Linked DNA regions of Homo sapiens: region 2 is linked to region 1. The links are contacts of gene promoters, found by promoter capture Hi-C in human tissues and cell types (Jung and others, 2019). All regions are on one chromosome and are shown on one strand. The core of a region is centred on a gene start or on the middle of the fragment in contact, and the rest is flanking DNA. Distances in the headings are between cores, read along the strand shown.

Region 1 (4,785 bases), core at 1,232-3,731:
ATTTTTTTTTTTTTTTAGAATTTGTTGTTGTATTTTTTGCATCTGTAATTTTCATTTGGCTTCCCTTTATATCACCTATTTTTTTCCCTGGAACTTTACTTCTTTGCCCAGACTTTCTATTTTTTCATCTATTTCAATACTGTTCATAATTATTAGCATTTGCTGAAATATTTTTATGATGGCTATGTTAAAATCCTTTTTAGATAATTCTAACATTTTTGTAATCTTAGGGTTGGTGTCTTTTATTGTCCATTCTCATTCAAGTTGGGATCACCTTGGTTCTTGGTATGATGAGCGATTTTCAATTTCTATTTGGACATTGCAGATATTATAAGATACTGGATCTTATTTAAATCCTGGGTTTTACCAGGCATCCTCTGACACTGTTCTGGCAGGAGAAGTGGGGTCACCTCTTGTAGGCAAGTTGGAATAAAAGCTCAAGTTCTCTACTCAGTCTTCATTGACACACAGCCGAAGAAGGGGTGTCTTCTTACTGCTTAGGTAGGAGTGGGGCTTCAGGCTCTTCACTAGGTCTCTGATGATAGCCCCCTGGATGGGAAAGAGAAGGGTGTCCTATTACTGCTCCCTGCATGGTCTCCACTGATACCATGGGAGGTGGCTTATGCCTATAATCCCAGGACTTTGGGAGGCTGAGGAGAGGATGGCTTGAGGCCAGGAGTTTGAGACCAGCCTGGGCAACATAGCAAGACTCCATCTCTACAAAAAGAATTAAAAAATTAGGTGTGGTGACATGCCTGTAGAAGTATTCACCCAAATACTTGGGAGGTTCAGGTGTGAGGACTGCTTGAGCCCAGAAGTTTAAGGTAGCAGGGAGCTATGGTCATACCACTACCTTCCAGCCTGAGTGACAGAGTGAGATCCCATCTCTTGGAAAAAAAAGGTGAATGATTCTGGATTACAAGGATGTCCAGTGTGTGGTCATTAGAGTATATTGCTAAAGAGAAATATTAGACAACATTTACATTTCCTGTTTTATTTATATATATATATATATATATATATATATAAACTTAGCAAGACATATGTATATAAACAAATACATAATGTGGCAAATATTAGCTTTGCAACTTAATTAATTTTTAAATATATATCCACACATGAACCACAACCCACACACAGATATGTGGCATGTATTTCCAACAATGAGAATCCTTTTTTTTTTTTTTTGAAACGGTGTCTCACCCTGTCTCCCAGGCTGGAGTGCAGTGGCGCAATCTCGGCTCACTGCAACCTCCATCTCCCGGGTTCAAGTGATTCTCCTTTCTTAGCCTCCCGGAGCTAGGACTATAGGCGCCTGCCACCATGCCCGGCTAATTTTTGTATTTTTAGTAGAGACGGGGTTTCACCTTGTTGGTCAGGCTGGTCTCGAACTCCTGACCTCAGGTGATCCACCTGCCTCGGCCTCCCAAAGTGCTGGGATTACAGGCATGAGCCACTGCACCTGGCCGAGAATAGATTTTTTAAAGACCCAAGAAAAGGGGCAGCCCAGCAAGACAGAAAATTTCACCAGTAACTGCTCTACTTTAACCAAACACCACAGAAAAGTGTTCACCCACTCCCTGTACCCACATACCAGCAAAGACTGAGTAGGAAGCTTAAACTTCACCCATACCATACAAGATGCCAGAACCCTGCCTGTTTCCCCACCCCAACCAGAGCAGTATCAGAAAAGGCCTTGTGGGAGCTGGAACTTCCATAACAACCAGGCCATAAAGATGCACCCCATGCCTCAGTTGGAGACCATGTAGGGAGCCTGGACTTCTGCTCCAACCCAGCCAAACAAGTTGCCTCCTGCCTTCTTCATCAGGGTAGTATCAGAGGAGGCCAAATGAAGAGTTGGGAATTTTACCACCATTCACTTATAAACGTGTGGGTCGGGAGAAAGAGATGAAACACAGAGAACAAAACATTAAATACAATTTTAAATAACTTTAAGATATTTTATGAGAGTAGGAATGTGAAAAGTTGGCTCTATAGTAATAACTAAGTAATTTCAATTAAAATATTTTTTACATATTATGTTTAGAAAAAACAAATGAGTATATCATTATTCCTGAAAATTTCCTCACATATAACCCAGAGTGAAAGTTCACCTTGTCATCTTGATTTCATTCTCTTACATGCCCACAATATCCATTCACTTTTTCCCTAACCCAGCAACCTGCGTCCTCATATCTCTACCACACTATCTTATCCAGGAAACTTCCTTTTACTAGAATTCTGGGAAAGCAGTGTCCAACAGCTCTTTGTCAGAAATCCACTGTCCCAAAGTCTTAAATTAACACAATGGCGCAATTTCTGTAGGTTCATTTTCACCCCTTATTTGTTTATTTTTAAAAAATAAAACAAAGCCTTAAGCCGTCAAATGCCTGAGATATACAGGAGCAATGACGTTGCATTTCATCAGCCAATCAAGTAAGAGATGATGGGCCTGAAGCTAACCGGTGCAGACTAGGGGCGAGTTTGGAGCAAGTAACTGTCAGTGAGGTTGCAGTTGGTCTGGGCTGTTTGGCTGTGAGCGAAATAGCTGCCCCCCACTTCTCACTTGCACACCACGGGATACTCCTCCTGAGGCTCCGGATGGTGAGCTCTCCAGTCTCTAGTTTCCTTTTCTGGAAGTTGACCTTTCCTACTGGTACTTTCTCTCTCAGTCTCGCCTCCTAGATGAACAAAGGCTCCCACTGTTTTCCTGCTAGAGATTCAGCCACTCCCTCTTGGCGCTTCTGCCTTTCTTGTGGCAGACCATGGAACACTTTCCCAAAGATCAGCTAGCTTCTCGGTTTGAACTTCTACCCCTTAGCTGCTTCCCCTCCTCCATTATGCTTTTTACATCAACTCTTTGTGAACTATCCAGTGGCATGTGTTCCCTTTGCGTTACTGAAACTGAAAAGTCCAGCCCTAGGGGAAAGCTCACTGGTTCAGGGAATCGCCTCAGGTGTGTGGAGCTGATCTTGAGCTGGAGGAAGGGCTCATTCTGAGTGGAGGGGCATTAGGAGGGCAATAGCCCACCCACCTTCAGAGTCAGTAAGATGTCTGCGTTGTGTGGTAGGAGAGTTTACTAAGGAGACAATCCAGCCTCTGGTATCAATATAAAATAAACCATTAAGCATGAGCTTTGTAGCTGTGAAGATTACTGAGATCCCACAGTGCCCTCTTCAGGATGCTTTCTTCACCTAATTCTTGCAAAACGTTCCAATCTGAAGGAAGAAGACTGTTTCCATGTTCAGTAACATGGTAAATTAGTGTGACTTACGGTTCATGAGACAAAATTTCTCAATGCTGGCTGACTGACAAGGACAAATTCATGTCATTTTTGAGAGGGCAGTCATTAATTTCCTCCACACACAAAGAGAATTGAGATATTAGCTAACATGAGAGATATATATATATATATATATTTGAAATAGAGTCTCACTCTGTCACCCAAGCTGGAGTGCAGTGGCACAATCTAGGCTCACTGCAATCTCTGCCTCTTCAATTGATTCTCCTGTCTCAGCCTCCCAAGTAGTTGGGATTACAGGCATGTGCCACCACACCTGGCTAATTTTTTTTTTTTTTTTTTTGTATTTTTAGTAGAGACAGTTTCACTATTTTGGCCAGGCTAGTCTCGAACTCCTGATCTCAAGTGATCCACCCGCCTAGGCCTCCCAAAGTGCTGGGATTACAGGCGTGAGCCACTGTGCTCAGTCAACTAACTTATTGTTAAATTAATGCAGAGGACCTATGTGATAAACCAATATTTTTTTCTTTAATGGGATTTGGACTCACAGACTTTTACAAAGCTGTCAAAAGTCAGCTTAAGATGAAGAGTTCTAATTATATTGAAAACCTGTGGCCGGGCGTGGTGGCTCACGCCTGTAATCCCAGCACTTTGGGAGGCCGAGGCGGGCAGATCACAAGGTCAGGAGATCGAGACCATCCTGGCTAACACAGTGAAACCCCGTCTCTACTAAAAATACAAAAAATTAGCCGGGCGTGGTGGCTGGCGCCTGTAGTCCCAGCTACTCGGGAGGCTGAGGCAGGAGAATGGTGTGAACCCGGGAGGCAGAGCTTGCAGTGAGCCGAGATCGCACCACTGCACTCCAGCCTGGGCGACAGATCATGACTCCGTCTCAAAAAACAAAAAAAAGAAAACCTGTTTATTCTCATAGCTATTTCCTTACCCATACATTTAACATATTAAGCTACAGTAATGTTAGTATTTTTAAAACTATTTTAAGATGACATCTATTCTCAAATAGAGATTTCTTATGAGATTTTGGAGTAGAGGTTGGGGAAGCCAAATGGTATTTATCACATATGCATAGCCAGAGAGATAAATTGTGTTGAATTTGATCATATATATCTCTGAATTTAAGAGTAAACAGGATTCGTGGTAATTTTATTATTATTAATGTGATTATAATTTAACTTTCATGTTCTGGGATACATGTGCAGGTTTGTTATATGGGTAAATTCATGTCATGGAGATTTGTTGTACAAATTATTTAATCACCCAGCTATTAAGCCTGGCACCCATTAGTTATTTTTCCTGATCCTCTCTCTCCTCCCACCATCTACCCTCAAGTAGGCCCCAGTGTATTCCCCTCTATGTGTCCACGTGTTCTGAATATTTAGCTTCCACTTATAAGTGAGAACATGCAGTATTTGGTTTTCTGTTCCTGCATTAGTTTGCTAAGAATAGTGGCTTCCAGCTCCATCCATGTTCCTACAAAGGACATGATCTCATTCTTTTTTATGGCTGCATAGTATTTCATGGTGTAT
Region 2 (4,785 bases), core at 1,247-3,746, 39 kb before region 1:
GCCTATCCCAAGTGCTGCCACATACCTGAGTGTCTTCTTGTCTTCAGCTAGAGAGAACCAATCACTTAGACTCTCATCCTGGACCCCATGCAGTGGCATCATAGTACACAGTAATACTGATCTTTGTGATGTAAGTTGCTTTTTCCTTACATCTCTAAGGCTACAGAGAATTCAAGATTATATCATCTGAAGGTGCCATTAGGACAAATTATTCTTTGCAGATATATTTTATTATTCGATACCCAAGCATACCATAAGCATGCTATCCCTTCCTTGTGACTTCTCTTCCTGTCTTCATAGGTCTAAGACTAATAACATAGTCACTGCTCTTTGAGAAACCCAAGATGGTTCAGCTGCCTGAATACATACAGCCTACAAAGATCTGCTCACCCTGCCCATCCACTGCTGGGTATTATACTCACAAAGGCTTTGGTTTTGAAGTGAAAAAAAATATATAACTCGATAATTTTCTCAGTATTACTGAGACTGTTCCATCCTATCTAATTATCTAGGAAAGTCAGAAAAAATCAGGCCAAATATTTCCTCAGGCTCCATTGCCAGTGCCCACCCAACACATTTTGTTTTATTTTCAGCTAAGGCAATTGTGGAGACAGATACTGGCATTCCAATTCTATGTGATATTTTTTAAACCATTAGGCTTCTCTGACGTGGAAATCCAGGCTCTACCAGAGGCCATGATGAAGAATGCAGAATGGACAAGCTCTCATAGAGAAAATCTGTGTTTTAGGACAAGAGAGAAAGCAGATACATACCAAACCATATATTGTGGACTGGGAGCCAGCAATGTTAAGAAACAAAACACAGTGATTGAGGCAAAGGAAATCAGAAGGAAAGCCTTACTCTTAAATAGATACGTATTTTTATTTTACAGGTTTTTTTTTTCCTCGAGTCTGTGCAGAATAACTGAAAATACGACCAATCTGAAAACAACAGTATTTATATGTTTACAGGGAGGTGACCGGGGCTAAAACAAATACTAGATTTGTGAGCAAAAGAAATCATTTTACCTCTCTGAGACTCCGGAAAAGTAATAGTACCAATCTAATGGTTAAAAAGACTAAATGAAGTAGTATATAAAGCTCCTAGAATACTGCCAGTAGAAATAAGCACTAAATAAATGTTGCTCTTATCTCACATAGTTATTATGAGAATTAGGCAATTAAAGCACTTAGTATAGAGCCTAGGTTATAGTAAATGCCAATACGTGTTAGGTAGCTAAAAAAATTAATCGATCAAATCATATAGGGGGAACTACAGTCCTGAAAACAAAGAAGCCCACTTATAACCCTTGCCATGCAGTCCAGGGTTCACAAAAACCTGGGTCTTACCAGACAGCTGCCCACCTGGTAGCTATATTGCCCCTATTCATGCCTCTTCCTCAGCAAGTTTCTATGTCCAAATCCACATTACCCCACATGTAGTCACAAGGACTTGGAAATATCAGCCTTTCCGCCTGTTTATGTGTAAAACGAGGTAATAATTCATTTTTAGAAGGATAGTTACAAAGAAGATTAACAGCATCTAGCTTGCAGTAGACCGTAGCTCACAGACCACCATTCTCCTTTGTTAAGAAAGACAGTGAAATCATTGGCTATGTGGTCTTGCCAACAAACCATACATGAAAAAATTATCTTGAGGCATTCACTGTATTTGGATTCTTATACCAATACCATTGTATTTGGATTTCATATACCAATGGGATATATGAAAACCTTCTCCGTTTTTTGTCTTGTAAGCTGGTTCCGAATAAACAAAATGTCTGTTTCTCTAGATACCCGGGGTTAACCCTTCAAAGCATTATGATCACAGAGCATTTCAGCTCTCTCAAGTGTAGCTTCAGCTTTAACTGATCCTTCATGGCTTCCCCCAGGCAAGGGCTAGGAGGGAGAAAGGGGCTGCATAACAAAGAGGAGACGCAGGAGCTCTCCCGGAGAAAGCGAGCCTGGAAATCTGTATCTCCGCCGCAGCTTTTGGTGCCAATATGGAACCAATACAGCATTTCTCTTTCCCTTTTGGGGGCAGTTTAAAATAGGCTGTGCCTCCCCAGTTTTGGGAGCTGGAGCCAGTGAGCCGAGCCGAGCCTGCCCGGAGGATGCGCCAGCTTCGTCAGCGCGGATCAAGAGCCCCCGGAGCCCCGGCCTGGTGCATCTTTTTTTCAGGCAATTGGAATGGAGAATCTGGACGCCAGCAGCTGCCTGTAAACCACCCTTTGGAAGGCAAAATCCGTTTCTCAGCAAGAGAAAGCGCTTAGAGAAAAGCGCTGCCATCAACACCGCTGATCTAGTCCCCGGACCAGATTGTGGCAAGAGCCGAAGCTCCGCGCCTTCCACTCGCCGCCCGCCCCAGGGCCACCGGCTCAACATCGCCTGCCCTGCGCCCTCCTTCCCAAGCCCCGGCCCCGCTCACCAGCCTCTCCATCCTTGCTCCTGGAGGCGCGCGCGAGGTGGCTGACTGCGGATGTGCGCCTGGAGCTCTGCTAGGCAGGCGGGAGGAGCGTCACCTGTGCCCCTGCCGCACCTCCCGCCTCTTCCTCCTCGCTAGCCCCCTTCTCCCACTCCGTTTTCCCCACGCCCTCACAGGAGCGGAGGCTGTCTGTGTGGGGGGAATTAAATGATGTTTATATTCAGCTTTGTCTATTTTCAGACATTTTTCCCTTTTCAAAGGTGACCGCTGGGGAAACTGACAAAGTGTTTGGAAAAAAAAAATCATTTTTTTTTTTCCATTTTCCTGCTACCTGGACTGAGAAAGGAAATGAGGTGGGAGGTTGTGGAGATCAGTTGTTGACCTGTTAGCTCTTGATGTAGTGGCAAAGGATTCAAGCTGAATTTAACCAATGGACTTTTTTTTTTTTTTAAAGAAAAAACTTACATTTATTATTTTTAAATCCAGATTCAAATTATATATTTAAGCAATTCCGTAATGATTTCACCTTTCATGATGTGATCAATTCTTTGGTGAAGAGTTTCCTTCCACTTGCATTAATGATGAGGATTCTTTTTTCCCTTCTCCTTCTCCTTCTTCTCCTTCTTCTTCTTCTTGAGACGGAGTCTCGCTCTGTGGTCCAGGCTGGAGTGCAGTGGCGCTATCTTGGCTCACTACAAGCTCCGCCTCCCGGGTTCCCGCCATTCTCCTGCCTCAGCCTCCCGAGTAGCTGGGACTACAGACGCCCGCCACCATGCCCGGCTAATTTTTTGTATTTTTAGTAGAGACGGGGTTTCACCATGTTAGCCAGGATGGTCTCGGTCTCTTGACCTCGTGATCCGCCCGCCTCGGCCTCCCAAAATGCTGGGATTACAGGCGTGAGCCACTGCGCCCGGCCCTCCTCCTCCTCTTCCTCCTTCTCCGTCTCCTTCTCCTTCTCCTTCTCCTCCTTCTCCTTCTCCTCCTCCCCCTCCCCCTCCTCCTCCTCCTTCGTCTTCTTCTTCTTGTTCCAGAGTTCTTGGCTCTTAAAAAAAAAAAAAAAAGGACAAAGAAATCATCAAGTGTTCACCTCCTGAAGGCTTTTGTGTTTTACTACTACCACCCTCTCATAAGGAGCTGGGACAAAGCTTTGGGGTTTTGTTTTTGCTTCTTTTTACAGACAAAGTCTCGCTCTGTTGTCCAAGCTGGAATGCAGTGGTGCGATCATAACTCACTCCTGGGCTCAAGGGATCCTCTCACCTCAGCCTCTAGAGTAGCTAGAATGATAGTTGTGCAGCCACTATGTCCAGCTTTTTTTTTTTTTCCAGACACGGGGTCTTGTGTTGCCCAGGCTGGCCTGAAATTCCTAGCCTCAAATGCTCCTTCTACCTTTGCCTCCCAAAGCAGTGGGATTACAGGCATGAACCACTGCACCTGACCTATTCTCCCACTTCTTTTTTTGGGGGGGGGGCGGTGGGAGACGGGGGCGGAGTCTCGCTCTGTCGTCCAGGCTGGAGTGCAGTGGCGCGATCTCGGCTCACTGCAAGCTCTGCCTCCTGGGTTCACGCCATTCTCCTGCCTCAGCCTCCGAAGTAGCTGGGACTACAGGCGCCCGCCACCACGCCCGGCTAATTTTTTTTGTATTTTTAGTAGAGACGGGGTTTCACCGTTTAGCCAGGATGGTCTCGATCTCCTGACTTCATGATTCGCCCGTCTCAGCCTCCCAAAGTTGTGGGAATTACAGGCGTGAGCCACCGCGCCCGGCCCCTATTCTCCTACTTCTAACACCATAGACTAGGCTCACCTGATTTTGAATTTTATATGAATGGCATCGTAGCATATGTCTTCACTTGTTTCTGGGTTTTTTACTCAACAGTAGATTTTAAAAATCCATCCATGTTATTGCCTGTAGTGTGGCTTATTCATTCTCACTGATGTATAGTATCCTATTCTGTAAATACTGTCTATTACAATTTATTTATCTATTCTTCTATTAATTAACATTTCTTTGTTTTTCAAATTGGAAGCATTTTTCATAGTGGTGCTATAAACATTCTTATACCTGTCTTTTCACAAGCATATGTACATCATTCTATTACATTTATTTTTCCCATATATTTTCCTATCACTTTATTTTTAACCTTCCTCTATTAGAGAAATATTAACTGCACACTTGGAAAAAAAATTCTCCCACCTTGGCCTCCCAAACTACTGGGATTACAGTTGTGAGCCACTGCACCCGGCCTTAACCTATTTGTATGTTGTAATTACTGATATAATAGGACTTTTAATTTTTTTATATTTTATTTTAGTATATTTTCTTCTGTCTTATCTTTCATTAAGCTAAATATTATCTTGCTACAT

What was found. Contacts are between HindIII fragments. The study calls those that stand out against the background at their distance.
Region 2: a contact is called between the fragment with the promoter of CD200 here and the fragment with the promoter of SLC9C1 in region 1, in 1 of the 25 tissues and cell types used here (neural progenitor cells).

Annotation. Positions count from the first base shown.
Region 1 is chr3:112,291,912-112,296,696 of GRCh38, reverse strand. It overlaps SLC9C1 (solute carrier family 9 member C1), which reads left to right and starts at 2,481. Exons shown (of 29, transcript NM_183061.3): 1 at 2,481-2,604. The HindIII fragment of the contact is 5,534 bases long and covers 408-4,785 here.
Region 2 is chr3:112,330,867-112,335,651 of GRCh38, reverse strand. CD200 (CD200 molecule) reads right to left here and starts at 2,496. Exons shown (of 6, transcript NM_005944.7): 1 at 2,428-2,496. The coding sequence starts at 2,439. It overlaps LOC105374042 (a long non-coding RNA gene), which reads right to left. Exons shown (of 5, transcript NR_147411.1): 5 at 2,898-3,466. RefSeq lists enhancers at 1-418, 915-1,871, 1,872-2,829. The HindIII fragment of the contact is 7,249 bases long and covers 1-4,785 here.